Linked DNA regions of Homo sapiens: regions 1, 3 and 4 are each linked to region 2. Evidence: promoter capture Hi-C in 16 types of primary human blood cells and fetal thymus (Javierre and others, 2016). All regions are on one chromosome and are shown on one strand. The core of a region is centred on a gene start or on the middle of the fragment in contact, and the rest is flanking DNA. Distances in the headings are between cores, read along the strand shown. Region 1 overlaps NUP58 (nucleoporin 58). Region 2 holds the start of PARP4 (poly(ADP-ribose) polymerase family member 4). Region 3 has its middle 6.3 kb from the start of MTMR6. Region 4 overlaps TNFRSF19 (TNF receptor superfamily member 19).

Region 1 (3,438 bases), core at 814-3,313, 800 kb after region 2:
AGCTGCTATTTCTCTTTATTCTTAAGTATGTAATTTTTAGCAAGTAGTTCTTCCAAAGAGCCAATTTTATCATGGATGTCAGTTTTTAAAAACATCGTATTTGTATTTTTCTATGGTGCTGTTAAATAAGTTGCCTTTTGAAAGCTTACTATCTCTCTTTTTATAGCATCCACAGGATTTACTCTAAATAATTTGGGTGGGACAACAGCCACAACTACAACTGCATCAACAGGCCTCTCTTTAGGGGGAGCCTTAGCTGGTTTGGGAGGTTCACTTTTCCAGAGTACAAACACAGGAACATCAGGTAATTGATGGTATTTATTCTCCAGAATAGTAAATATTTATATTTAAATGTACTTATTTTTATTTTAGTACTTTGAGCAGGTCACTTTTTAATCTGCATATTTTCCTTTAAATATGAAAACTAAATTATAAAATGATGGTTTTCATACATAATTGGATGTATTAACCGTATTTTATTTATTTATTTATTTATTTTGAGATGGAGTCTTGCTCTGTCACCCAGGCTGGAGTGCAGTGGCGTGATCTTGGTTCACTGTAACCTCCACCTCCAGGGTTCAAGAGAGATTCTCCTGCCTCAGCCTCCTGAGTAGCTGGGATTACAGGTGTGTGCCAGCACACCTGGCTTATTTTTGTATTTTTAGTAGAGATGAGGGGGTTCACCATGTTGGCCAAGCTGGTCTCAAACTTCTGACCTCAAGTGATCCGGCTGCCTTGGCCTCCCAAAGTGCTGAGATTACAGGCGTAAGCCACCGCACCCAGCCTATTAGCCATATTTTAGAAATACATTTTCCTCTTTCTCAATATTGACTAACCAGATAAGGAAACAAAGAAGAGCCTGTTTAAGGAGTCAGTAAACTGATCTAGAGATAACATCTCTTCTAAAAAGAACAAAAATTGTATTAGCTCAGTAATGCATGGTCTTATAAAAGTATAGATTTATTAGGCTGGACACGGTGGCTCACACCTGTAATCCCAGCACTTTGGGAGGCCAAGGCAGGTGGGTCATCTGAGGTCAGGAGTTCGAGACCAGCCTGACCAACATGGTGAAACCGCATCTCTACTAAAAATACAAAATTAGCTGGGCATGGTGATGCATGCCTGTAATCCAAGCTGTTTGGGAGGCTGAGGCAGGACAATCACTTGAACCTGGGAGGCAGAGGTTGCAGTGAGCCGAGATCATGCCATTGCACTCCAGCCTGGGCAACAAGAGCGAAACTCCATCTCAAAAACAATAATAACAATAAAAAAGAAATACAGATTTATCAACACAAGATGCTTGAAATTTTGCGCTTGACTCACAAGTGTACGTTAATGACTTATGATTAACCGTAGTCTGGTCCTTTTTATTCCTTTTGTCAGTGAGGGAAGATGTAAATAAGCAAATGAATTCTAATACTTTTTTTTAAGTTTTGTGAAACGAACTTGGGAGTATGAAATTATATTCAATACATGTTATATTCAAATGTTATAAATTCACACTAGATTATCTTAAAAGTATGTAGTTCCAAAGTGTGTTTGTAAGACAAGATGTATTCACCTGAAAATACACCAACTGAAACTGCTTTTGTAGAGAGGGTTTAAAAGCCCTCTGTAACAAAACCCCTTTATAACAAGTGAAGATTGAGTGCCTACATACTGAATTGATATATGTTCTGGCCCTCGTAATAATGAAAAATCGCATCATCCAAACTGCATATGCCATCGAATTCAAGAAAGGTTATCAGTCTTTGGCCAAAACATCTCCAGGCTTGTTTCTTGTTGTTTGCCTAAATCAAATATGAAGAAAATCTAGGATCCAACTTTAAAAGCATTAGAGTCCTTTGATCAGTAAGGGGAAATTGTTGTAGTCTTTTGATGGAATTTATAAGTTATGTTTTATTTATAGGACTTGGACAGAATGCTTTAGGGTTGACTTTGGGAACTACAGCAGCTACTTCAACTGCAGGCAATGAAGGCCTTGGTGGTATAGATTTCAGTAGCTCCTCAGATAAAAAGAGTAAGTAATGCTGTTGTAACTTTATGTTTTAACAGTTCTGTTGAGGGAATGTCTAGGTTGCTCAAAATTCCTTTGTGTGGAAGATTAGCAGTTATATATTTAGTAGTAACAGTTAGCTATCTTAATGTGTATACGAATATGTATTTTTTAATAGGGATCATGATACATATGCAGTATTGTTTTGTAGTCTGTTCTTATCTAACATCAGAAGCATTTGTCTGTCAGTAACTCTTTTTAAATATTTTAATGCTGCTTAATATCAGTTTTATGGATGGATAAGTTAGTCAACCATTGTTCTCTTGTTAGATGTTTATTTCCAGATGTTTTACTTTGGGAAGTAAAACACTGGGCATTTATCTAAAAAGGCAACATAATATAGTAGTTTAAGAGTGTCTGCTCTGGAGTGGAATTGCCCGGGTTCAGATCCTGGCTCAACTGCTTATAAGCTCTCTGACCTTATTGAAGTTACTTATATTATGTGCTTTGGTTTTTCCTTATCTGTTAAATGGTTTGAGGGTTACTATTTGTAAAACCCTAGCAGAGCCAGACATGTAGGTGTCTCCTTTTATTATCAATGCTTGTTTATATTTTTGGTTATTTCTTAGGGAAAATACCTGGAAATTGGATCATTGGCTTAAAGAGAGGGATATTTTGGAGACTCTTAGTGTATAGTTTGTGAAATCGCTTTCCCAGAAAGATTTTACCAGTTTACCCCCTAACCAGTATGAAAATACCTTTCTTGCTGTGCCCTTGCCACGTTGAATCTTGGTTTTAAAAATTTGCTAATCCAAATTCATTTTGAAAATGTTTTCATTGTTTTTTGTGTTACTTTGTTTTGCACCATCTCTTCTGCTTCTGATGAAAGCATGTTTCACTAGAATATATACCATATATACTAGGGTATATATATACATATTGAACTTCTCTGAAGAAAGATAAATGGATGAAGCTGTGAAATAGTATCTGTGTATCTATATGACTTTTTTTTTAAAAAACTGGACACAGGTTTTATTATAAGGAGATACTATTCTAGGGTGAATTACTATTTTAAAGTTGGTAAAACCTTTTTAAACTTTTACAAAGTTTAGATTTCTCTTTCAGTGAAAATTGACAAATTTCTAAACAAAGTTTGTTTTTACTTAGTTTTCTCTGTAGCAACTCCATAATTAGGAAAGCAGCCTTAGCAGCTTATTTGTTTACTCAAGTGGAATAGCTTGGTACCACTTCTATTACTTTTATTTTAAGCATGAGAGTACTTCTCTATTATAATTGTTTTTAGGCTCAAAGAGCAGGCTAAGGCAGAAGAGTAAGATAAATGTAAGAAATTAATCTCCCCTCCTCTGCCCCTCCCCACATCTTCCTGCTTTCATAGTGTACCTAAGATAGAGTTGAGCAAGGAGAATATATACAATAAATGA
Region 2 (3,641 bases), core at 648-3,147:
CCTCGACCTCCCTCCCAGCAATCCTTTCACCCGGCCTACTTAGTAGCTGGGACCACAGGCCTGCACCACCATGCCCAGCTAATTTTGGTAGAGACAGGGTTCTTACTATGTTGCCAAGGCTGGTCACAAACTCCTGGGCTCAAGCCATCCTCCTGCCTCAGCCTCCCAGAGTGCTGGGGTTACAGGTGTGAGCTGCCACGCCCGGCCCAGAGTAAAAACATTTTAAACATAAATCTGCGGTCTGTTCTTAGCACCTGCGGCTGCGTGGGAGGTATGGAAAGGCGCACTTTGGGTTTCGTGAAATCTCAAGTCAGGTCTTGACTTCTCTCTTTCCACAGATTCATCTCTAGTCTCTGTAAAATGCCAGCCCTCTTCTGGGTTAACAGCGCCTAACCGACATGCGCCACTAGTTCTTCCTTGTTTCAAAGTGTTCTCTAAACACAGAGTTAGTTCATGTTTTCATCAGCGCTGATTACGTACATATGAGATGTGGCGGACACTGGGCTAGGGGCTGGTTATTCTCTAAGGCAAATCTGCACAGTCACTCCAGCCTGTCCCCCTTCCCAGCTTCTTCCCCAAATAACATTCACAGAGTGTCTTCCACCCAAAGACAGCAGGGAACAGCCCCGATTCCTAAGAAACCCTCAGCGCGCCTCCTCACAAACTCTTGGCTGCTCCATAAACCATTGGTGTAGGTGGAATCAAGTGGCTTCCTGCTTCACAGGTCTTCGTCTTTACCACTGGCATTTCCTCCTCTCGGAAAACCCTGAGGAGTCCCTTTCTGGGCAGTCTTGATTCTACAGCCTCCGCCTTCCGAAGTGTGTGAGTCAGCACACGCTAAGATCACTTTTGATATACAGTGGGCATTCAATAAAAGCTTGCTTACTAAAAACTCTCACGTATCCATTAAAGCCCAGGATTACAGAAAAGCCTTCTGACACTATTTGCATTTTGGACTCAAATGGCATCAGTAATGCACCTCCCTAATGGGTTTATTAAACCCTTAAACAACAAAGGTACTACTTTTATTTCACTCCTACATGATATACAGTAGCTCTACGCACACAAACAAGACCTAATGTTTACTTAATAAATGATAAAGTCAGATGTAATGAGTCTGCAACACGCACATCTCAGAGCGAACTTCCCCTTTATCATAGCACTATGCTTGGATATTGTCATATAATTGTTGTCATCCAGCAGTCCAGAATTGAAAGTGCTTGGGCTTGAATATTTAGCAGCGCCTTAGTTTTCTAGAACCTGTGATCTACCAACTCGATCCCTGGGTGAACCATTCGGCCCTCCTAGCAGGAATTACTTAACTGAGTTAGAGGTTTTCAACTTTGGACCTCAACAAACACATTGTTTCTATCACGGTGTTCCCAATGACTCACGAGGTCAGATAGTACTTCCTGATTACTCACCAAACCACCTTACTTTTTGCACAATTCGAAACCTAACTTTAGGAAAGAAGGCCGTTTGGCATACTGGAAACAAGAAACAACGCGTGCTACTGCGAACCGCACCGCACGGGGTGCGGAGACTTGGTGTGACTGTCGGCTCCGGTGGGCGCCCCCCACCGCACCCGGTTTCTCGTCACCAGGGCTGCGCCGCGGGGCAGAGCGGAACGACCGCAATATCCCTCCCCGAGGGCGCTGGCTGCACTAGCTAGTCCACTCCCGAGCCTAGCAGCGCCGTCAGGCCCACAGCGCCAACGCCGCGCAGGGCAAGGGTGCAGCCACTGGCGGGAAAGTAGTACGCGGGCCACTTCCTGGCTAGGACTACAGGGACCTTTGCAGCCCCCCACCCCGCAGCGCCCACGCACCTGCCTAGAGGATCCAGCTAGCTCCGGACGCTCCCCGATTCCGCGCTCCTTGCTCGCGGTACTTCCGTAATCTAGGCTCTCCCTGCCCCCGGGGCTGGGCGGGCGCCACTGCGCCGGAACCCCGCCCCGCACCAGGCGGGCGCAGCGTCCCAAGCAGGGACGATAGCCGGAACGCGCCCGGAATCGGGTCCGCCAGGTGGGGAGCGGGTCCCCGGCCTCTGGCGGGGTTTCTCTTCCAAGATCAGCCGGAGGGTTCAGGGCTTTCAGTTTCATATTTCAGGAGGGATTTTGTCAATGAGGATTAATACAAAGCTCGGCTTTGAGAGAGGTGGGTGGATGGTGCTGTCCTTTAACTGAGAAATGGAAGGGATTCACAAGGCCGGGAAAGAAGAAAATTTCGGGAAAGTTCGTGGAAACAGGAGAGTGAGATAATAAATTTACTTTAAGCCTTCCTGCGTTTGAAATTCGTGACAGTGTAACTAGTTGGAAATATATTTATCTGCCATTCAAGAGAGGCAGGGGGCTGGAGATACAGATCTGAGATTCACTGAAATGGGAATAAAGCAATGGGGAAGATTCAGATTTTTAGGATACTGAATAAAATGAGAATAGAAAGGATAGAGTAGAGAATACAGTGGAAAGGGTATGGGGTTGAATCCTGACTCCACAATTTATTACCAAGGGGGCTGGGGACAAGGTAATTTACCAAGTTTCATCATTACAACCTACTCTATAGGGTTGTCTAAGAAACAACAAGAGATTCTGGGGGAGGAGAGAGACTGATTCCTAGAGTTACCACATCGTAATGCTCAAAATGTCCAATCTTCAACAAAAAATTATGAGGCATGCAAAAAAAAAGGCGAAAAAATGGCCAATTCAAAGGAAAAAAGAAATGAACAGAAATTGTCCCTGAGCTGAGGAAGCACAGACATAGGAATTATTAGACAAATACTTCAAATAAACTGTCTTAAACATGGACAAAAAGTGAAAGGAAACATAGAAAAATAACTGAAAGAAACAACCAGGAGAACAAAGTCTCAATAAATAGAGAATATGCAATAGAAGATGTGCAAATGGTCAACAAGCATGAAAAAAAGCCCAGCATAACTAATTATCAGAAAAGTGCAAATTAAAACTGCAATGAGATACCATCTTACACCAGTCAGAATGGTTATTATTAAAAAGTCAAGGAACAACAGATGCTGGCAAGGCTTTATTGAAAAGGAAATGCTTATACACTGTCAGTGGGAATGTAAATTAGTTGAACCACTGTGGAAACCAGTTTGAAGATTTCTCAAAGTGCTGAAAACAGAACTGCTATTCAACCCAGCTATCCCATTACTGGGTACATATTCAAAACAAGAGAACTCATTCTACCAAAAAGACACATGCACTAGTATGTTCGTCACAGCACGCTTCACAATAGGAAAGACATGGAATGAACTTAGGTGCTCATCGACAATGGACTGGATAAAGAAAATGTGGTACATTTGCACCATGGAATACTACGAAGCCATAAAAAGAATGAATGGAATCATGTCCTTCACAGCAACGTGACTGCAACTGGAGGCCATTGTCGTAAGTGAATTAATGAAGGAACAGAAAACCAAATACCACATGTTCTAATTTGTAAGTGGGAGCTAAACACTGGGTACTCATGGATATAAAGATGGCAACAATAGACACTGGGGACAACTAGACAGGGAGGGAGGGGGAGGGGCAAGGGTTGAAAAACTATTGGGTACTATGCTCAGTCCCCGGGTGAGGGGCTCAGTCATACCCCAAACCTCAGCACCACGAATTATATGTAGGTAAC
Region 3 (3,694 bases), core at 537-3,036, 780 kb after region 2:
CAGGCCATCTGCCTCTCTGTTGCCAGCTCTCCCCTTGGTGATTACTGCAAGGAACAAAGAGACCCATTTCCCCTCAATACAAGGGGTGGGAAATGAAGAGACATTGGAAAGAGAAGAGGTTCATTCACTAATATTTGTTTTATTGTTAGTAATATTTATAAAGCACACGATCCAGTTTCAGAGGATTCAATATGCACCTGTGTTCCTACATTCCTATCCTTCCCTTTAAAAATGTTGACATACAATAAAATTCATCAGATTAAGCATTTTCTGCTGCCTGATCTCATCAATTATGCCAAGAGCACACTTAATACTGTTACAATTCAATTGAGTAGTCCACTGCAACTTACAAACTAATCTGAAGGAAGATAATCAGGAAGAGACTTGTTTTTAGGGTTAGTTAGACTGGTGAATATCAAAATACCAGTGTAATCATTGACCACAAGAAAGCAGATGGGAATGAAAGTCAGCATGTTCTCTTCCTATAAAGCGTGGGGGGAGGTCACATTACAGTTGAGAAGATTGCTTAGTTAGCATGAATTCAGAGCAGGGGAAACTAGCTGCATGATAGGAGAGGCTGTTGCCATTCAGCAAAGATCTTGATGCATCAGCCAGCCTATCAGGATGTACCAACCACAAGAAAAGGCAGGAGGGGCTCTGGGCCAGGCAAGCCTCTGGAGGCAGCCCTGAAGATTCATTATTTGAGGGAAATATTAGATTTCCCTAAACTAGGCCTCATTATTGAACAATCCTCCCTCTAAGGGCCCTATTCTGCCTTTAGATATGCCATTTCATCTGCTAGGTTCATATCAAGATGTGGTATAGAAGCTATGCTGTCTTTTTAAGGAGACATATCTGTAACTTAATTAATTTTGTTTTAATGTATATATTTATAATTTCCTTTATCATCCAACTTCTAGGAGACATCAGGTTTTTTCTTACATGTGCCTACAAAAACAACTTAAAATAGTGACATGACTAATATTTGATGATTTTAAGAAAATATCATTTTCTTAATTGACTTTGCAATTAAAGACGGAGTTTTTTTGCACAAAAAATTGAAAGTTAAAATTCACAAAAAGCATGAAAGAAACTACTATTACGGTTTGAAATAATGAGGAATCAGATTTTTTTTTTTTTTGAGACAGAGTCTCACTCTGTTGCCCAGGCTGGAGTGCAGTGGCGCCATCTCAGCTCACCGTAAGCTCTGCCCCCTGGGTTCAAGCCTCAGTCTCCTGAGTAGCTGGGACTACAGGTGTGCGTTACCACACCCAACTAATTTTGTATTTTTTAGTGGAGACGGGGTATCGCCATGTTGGCCGGGCTGGTCTCGTACTCCTGTACTCAAGTGATCTGCCCACCTCGGCCTCCCAAAGTGCTAGGATTACAGGCATGAGCCACCATGTAATCAGAGTTTTCTGCATTTGTTTCTCTGTAATGTTTAATGCTTATTTTTACACCACTAAAAAAAAAATGAAAAGTGCCCCTATAAAAGGCACAAGAGATATTTGATATTTTTATTATTATGTAAGAAAATATTTTACATTTAACAATAAAATATTGGTGCTTTTTTTGGGGGGGAGGCTTAAACAACAGAAATTTATTGTCTTGCATTTTTTTTTTTTTTTCTTTAAGTTCTGGGATACATGTGCAGAATGTGCAGGTTTGTTACATATGTATTAATGTGGCATGGTGATTCGCTGTACCTATCAACTCATCATCTAGGTTGTTTTGTTGTTGTTGTTGTTGTTGTTGTTTTGAGATGGAGTCTTGCTCTGTCGCCCAGGCTGGAATGCAGTGCATGATGATCTCGACTCACTGCAACCTCTGCCCCCTGGGTTCAATCGATTCTCCTGCCTCAGCCTCCTGAGTAGCTGGGACTACAGGCACGTGCCACCACGCCCAGCTAATTTTTTGTATTTTTAGTAGAGATGGGGTTTCACCTTGTTAGCCAGGATGGTCTCGATCTCCTGACCTCGTGACCCGCCGGCCTCCGCCTCCCAAAGTGCTGGGATTATAGGCGTGAGCCACCGCACCCTGCCGGCCCATCTAGATTTTAAGCCTTGCATGCATTAGGTATTTGTCCTAATGCTCTCCCTCCCCTTGCCCCCTAACCCCTGAAAGGCCCCAGTGTATGATGTTCCCCTCCCTGTGTCCATGTGTTCTCATTGTTCAACTCCCACTTATGAGTGAGAACATGCGGTGTTTGTTTTGCGGCTCCTGTGTGTTTGCTGAGAATGATGGCTTCCAGCTTCATTCATGTCCCTGCAAAGGACATGAACTCATTCTTTTTATGGCTGCATAGTATTCCATGGTGTATATGTGCCACATTTTCTTTATCCAGTCTATCACTGATGGGCATTTGGGTTGGTTCCAAGTCTTTTGCTATTGTAAATAGTGGATGCTTTTATAATTATGTTTACTGTTTACCAGCGAATGGAATATTATAAAAGCAATCACAATTCCTAATCTTGGTGCTTCTTAAGTAAGCATAAATCGTTAAAAGAGCAAAAATATTTCACTTGATTTCGTTTCTTGGCTTTTATTTCTAGGAGTTTTATGGAAGAAGGTGAAGTCTATGATTAGAATTCTCTGTGAAATCAAAGATATCTGAATTCAGATCTCATTTCTGCCACTTTCTAGCTGTGAATTTAGTCAAATTATTTAACTTCTCTAACTCTTGATGTCCTTATCTGTAAATAGTGGTACTTATCATTATGTTATCCATTGAGTTATTTGTACAGGTTAATGAAATAATGAACAGAAGTACTTAGCATAGTAGCTGGCCTCGATAAGTGCTCAATAGCTGGATATAGCAGCCTTTGCCTATAGTCCCAGCTACTCAGGAGGCTAAGGCAGGAGCAATCAGAGCTCACTCAGCTCACTTGAGCCCAGCAGTTCGAGGCTGCAGTGAGCTATGATTGCACTATTGCACTCCAGCCTAGGTGACAGAGGAAGACCCCCATCTCTAAAAATAATAATAATAAATAAATGCTCAATAAATAATAGTTGTGTGTATGTACATGTTAAGCAGAATAAATCCTAGAGTTCCCAGAAATATCTAGATACCTGTCGATCCTCATTCTAGATCTTCACCATGGAGTTCAGAAATGTGCTTGGATCAGGCTGTGTTCATTTGGGGAGACTGAACTTGTCTCAGGATGAAATTTGTCTGAATGCACTGTATACTGTATTCAAGTGATCACATTATGTACTCTGCACCTCTGCAATTGAGGAGGTACACCTGGCCCAAGGAAGTGCACATGTCCAGGTTATACTCATGCTGGGCTGGAGGAAGACATACTAGTATTATGTTTCCATAAGGTTGGTGTGATGCTTACTCTTTCAGGATCTAGGGGTTCAGAGACTGGCTCCTCATTCTGTCTTTAAAAAGGTTACTAGCCATTTTTTTTTCTAAGTGTCCTTCTCTCTAAATCCTTTAGATAAGTAAACCTTGATGATTTAGCCAAGTGGTATCTGAGTCTGGGTTTTTGCACTTGCTATTGACATTGGCCGACACAGTGGTTAGTCATGCTCTAGTCTACATGACCACTTTATTGAACACTGGGTTCTGTGGGGTGCGAGCAGACAGTATCTTTCTTTTGCTCCACCGCTACCCTTCAAGCCTGCTTTGCTGGCTGTCTCTTCACCTCTCCTCAATAGGAGCTTGAGTTGATCCTGGAGAAGTACCTGT
Region 4 (3,766 bases), core at 563-3,062, 930 kb before region 2:
GTCAAAACACGTAAAATGATTCAAGAACTAATGAACTGAGTAATGTGTTACTACTGTCTCTAAGGACAAAAGGAGGTCAGAGAGAAGAAGAACATTTGGTTGAAGTCAGAGAAGGTAGTTCCTGAGCTGGCAGATTCAATTCCACTCAGAAAGCTTTGGTTGAACATTTATTTGAATGATTGATACTGTCAGAGATACAAATCGGAACAAAATATGCCCCTTCTCTGAAAGTGTTTTTAACTCCTTGAAGAAGAAAGTTAGTACACAGAATCTTATGATACAGGACACAATGGGCAAGTGCTAAATTGCCACAAACCTTGGAGCAAGGAAATACATAGGCTCAGAATTGAGGGAAAACTCGTGAGAGCCGTGGCTTTTGAGCGAGGTGCTGAAACTGGAGTAAGACAAGTAGGTAAAGCTCAGAGGTAAGATGGGAGAGCACGAAGAGGAAGTAGAGAGCAAAGGAAGGGCCACGCGGCGCAGTTTATAAAGCCTGCTCCAGAGGCGAGGCAAGGCTGGAAATAGGTGTAGGGCTGCACCTGGACATCTCGGAATGCTAATCTAAGGAGCGCAGAATCCATTCTTTACAGTGAGGAACCTCCTGTGACTCTTCAGCCTGACAGTAGCAGTGATGAAAGGCGGGAAGCGGGGTTGATGACCGAGGCAGTGCTGTGGTGAGGGGTGGGGAGGGTCTGCATGGTGGTGAAGGAGGTGGTGGGCACCAAGACAAAGAGAGGACGATGGGGGACTGCGTGAGACCTTGCAAAGGAAGATGCAGTAACTCAGCTTAGAAGTGCTGAGTATCCATCGTGTGCTAGGCCCCGGGATATCAAGGAATTAGGAGATGCCCTCGGGAGATCCAGGTGTAGCTGGGGAAGGAAACAGATAAAGAAGTTCAGCGGGATGTGGGAATGAATATGGTAGTGATGTGCACTGAGGGCTGGAGTCTGATCGGGTAGCCGCTGGGAGATGGGACAGGGAAGCACACACTTGCCTTGAGGTTCAAATTAGATAACGTACATCATTTGGAAATCGTTTACCAATAAGTCGTTATTGGGATCTATATTCTGGATGTGTTAGATTTGAAATATACAACCTCTATCAAGGTGTGACATCGGGAATAATATTTTTAACATTGTTCACAAGTACCTAGTATAGTGCTACGCCGTTGGAAGCCTGGGATCACAAGCTGTGCTTTTGGGCAATTAAATACAACAACCTATTCACTCATTCATTCAACAAATACTGATGGAGGGGCTCCAGTGGGCCTTGGGGTATAGACAAGAAACAGGGACTTGGGTCCATCCACACAGTGCAGTTGAGTGGGAAGTCAAAACCAACACGTGAGAAACGGTGGATGCCTTGGTACCAAAGTCATGCACCGTATCTTGGGTGAACGAATAGAACAATACTGCTTGCACTTTTACAGCATTCTACTGGTGGAAAAGTATTTTACAGACGCGATTCTCTTAACCCTTTCAGCAAAACTGCCCAGTGAGTCCCCGGCCCTGGCCCCGCCTCGCACGCGCTGGTGCTACAGCTGTGGTGCAGACGCCCTTCCGCTGCGAGGGTGCGGCCGTCTCGGGGCGAGTGCTTCCCGGCCTGCAGGAGGCGAACTCGGGCTTCCCCGGGAGGCGTCCGTGGGAACGCGCACCTGCGAGTCCCTGCCGGCTGAGGAGCCGAGGTCTGCGACCTCTGCCGACCTGAGCTCAGGCGCAGCAGCGCAGACCTGGCCGCCGTATCCCCTCTGGCTGGGATGCGGGCCCACGCGGGAAAGGCTGAAAGGTGGGGAACACCCCGGCGGAAAGGAACCCTCCCTCTCTGCTCTGAAGGAAAGTTTCCCAACACAGCCATGTTCTTGGTGGTCTCCGGTCCCCCATCCCCAAGCCCCCAGTCAGCCTCACACTCATCCGCTTCAGTAGCCGCGGAGTGGGGGCCTCCAAAGAACCCAGCTGCAGAGCAAGTCCGGCTGACGCAGTGTGCGCTGGGGGCGGGGCTCTGGACGGGGGCGGAGCCACGGCGAGAGCCGCGGTGAGGGCGGGGCCCGGGTGGGCGGTGCCCTGAGCGGGGCTCCTAGTGGGCGGGGCTCTGGGGTGGCGGCCGTTGCCGGGCTACGGGAGAGCGCGGAGCCCTGCGCTGGGAGGTGCACGGTGTGCACGCTGGACTGGACCCCCATGCAACCCCGCGCCCTGCGCCTTAACCAGGACTGCTCCGCGCGCCCCTGAGCCTCGGGCTCCGGCCCGGACCTGCAGCCTCCCAGGTGGCTGGGAAGGTAGGTGCGTCGCTGTCCCCGGCGCGCGGCGTCCCGCGAGGTCTTCAGCCCTCGCCCTGGTGGATCCCCGCTGGGTGGGAGCCGGGAGTGGAGGCGGCCGCCCTAGGGAGGGAGGAGCGCAGGCGGGGGCTGCTCACGGGCGGAGTACTGCGCGGCGAAGGGAACCCCCGAAGGGGCTGACCGGGTCTCGGGGCCGTGACAGGCGGCGAGGCGGTGGGAGGGGAGCGTGTGAATTCACGCCGGGTCCCCGCGGGCGACGCGAGCGACGCGACCTGGACTCCTATCCGGGATATTGTAAATAGATCTGCTTGTGAGGCTCACGACTGGGAGCCTGTCACTCTGCCCAAGCCCGACCCGGCCCCGGCGCCCGCCCGCGTCCTGCGGAGGTCCCCTGAGCCAGCGCGCGGCTGCAGGGGTCTCGGGGCCGCATCCCGGACCAGCGCCAGCGGCGGGAGAGCGTTGTCTGTGAGCGGCCCAGGGTATATTCCTTCTGTGGGAAAGAGTTCCTTAGAGTTCAGCAGGAATTATTAGTATATTGATGAGTAGAGCCTGTGATAGATTTAGAGAGTGAGAAAGCCAGCTCTTACAATGCGTGTAATGCCATCTCATGGGACAGAAATTTGGCTAATATACTCCTGGAGATCAAGTTTGGCGGATCAAAATTCTGTGATCTGTTTTGATGGTAGTGCACTAGTCATCCAGTCTCCGTTCACTATTGTAAGAAACCCATGTCATTTGTTTGCATGTTAATAAAGGACTCAATATGCATACAAAATCATCACCATTGTTCAGTGTTTCTTTTAACTGAAACAGTTTAACCCAAGATATGTATGAAGACGTAGTTTTTACCCCATGACAGTTTCTTTGACTACAAAACCAAACAATTTCTTTATGTAAACAGGAAACAGTTATTGTTAAACATACCTCATGCAAACGATATTTCTTAGTGTTGTCATTTCATGATCAGATATTAGATGCAAAAGGGAGGATTACATTGCGTTACTTCAGGATTTACTCAGTACCTTTTCTGTGGTGCAGTTTCACCTTAGGCGTTTTTGCCAACACTGCTTTCATGTAGTCTTAAAAATTCCAGGCAGTGCTTATTATCTAATTGAAAGGTATAGAACTGGAGGGGTGAGAATTGAGTCCTAGTGTGGAAGACAATTTTTGACATTCACAGAGATGTGAGTACTTAAAAAGAAAGCTTCTTTGCATAACACTTATCAAATTGTTCTGAAAGTAAAACAAAACATAGAAATGCATTTTCATTTGCACAATATAGCCTTGGCATCAATGCATGAAGCATTATCATGAGCTCTGTTCTTTACTTTTTAATCTATGAAAATGTCTTACCATATCTACTTTATTACCAAAGCCACATGGCTTTACTGACTTTAGGAAACTTTTTTCCATAGTAAGTGCTAACTCTGAGAGGTGGTGTTAGTATTTTCAGAGCAATCATAAAAGTTATTTGTTTCTTTGGCCGGAGTGTGT

What was found. Contacts are between HindIII fragments. The CHiCAGO score rates a contact against its expected background, and 5 or more counts as called.
Region 1: a contact is called between a fragment that was not itself captured here and the fragment with the promoter of PARP4 in region 2, in 1 of 17 cell types (neutrophils). The highest score is 8.2, in neutrophils.
Region 3: a contact is called between a fragment that was not itself captured here and the fragment with the promoter of PARP4 in region 2, in 2 of 17 cell types (neutrophils and monocytes). The highest score is 8.0, in neutrophils.
Region 4: a contact is called between a fragment that was not itself captured here and the fragment with the promoter of PARP4 in region 2, in 1 of 17 cell types (activated CD4 T cells). The highest score is 6.2, in activated CD4 T cells.

Annotation. Positions count from the first base shown.
Region 1 is chr13:25,313,448-25,316,885 of GRCh38, forward strand. NUP58 (nucleoporin 58) reads left to right here. Exons shown (of 16, transcript NM_014089.4): 5 at 167-304; 6 at 1,910-2,020. Among named protein-coding and RNA genes, the nearest start is that of NUP58, 14 kb to the left of the region's middle. The HindIII fragment of the contact is 3,842 bases long and covers 143-3,438 here.
Region 2 is chr13:24,510,881-24,514,521 of GRCh38, forward strand. PARP4 (poly(ADP-ribose) polymerase family member 4) reads right to left here and starts at 1,898. Exons shown (of 34, transcript NM_006437.4): 1 at 1,826-1,898. The region is part of intron 1 of LOC105370117 (a long non-coding RNA gene); the gene reads left to right. RefSeq lists a silencer at 1,896-2,055. The HindIII fragment of the contact is 3,630 bases long and covers 876-3,641 here.
Region 3 is chr13:25,291,906-25,295,599 of GRCh38, forward strand. No RefSeq gene overlaps it. Among named protein-coding and RNA genes, the nearest start is that of MTMR6, 6.3 kb to the left of the region's middle. The HindIII fragment of the contact is 3,928 bases long and covers 1-3,694 here.
Region 4 is chr13:23,577,258-23,581,023 of GRCh38, forward strand. The region is part of intron 1 of TNFRSF19 (TNF receptor superfamily member 19); the gene reads left to right. Among named protein-coding and RNA genes, the nearest start is that of TNFRSF19, 8.7 kb to the left of the region's middle. RefSeq lists silencers at 1,984-2,463, 2,664-2,723. The HindIII fragment of the contact is 3,323 bases long and covers 152-3,474 here.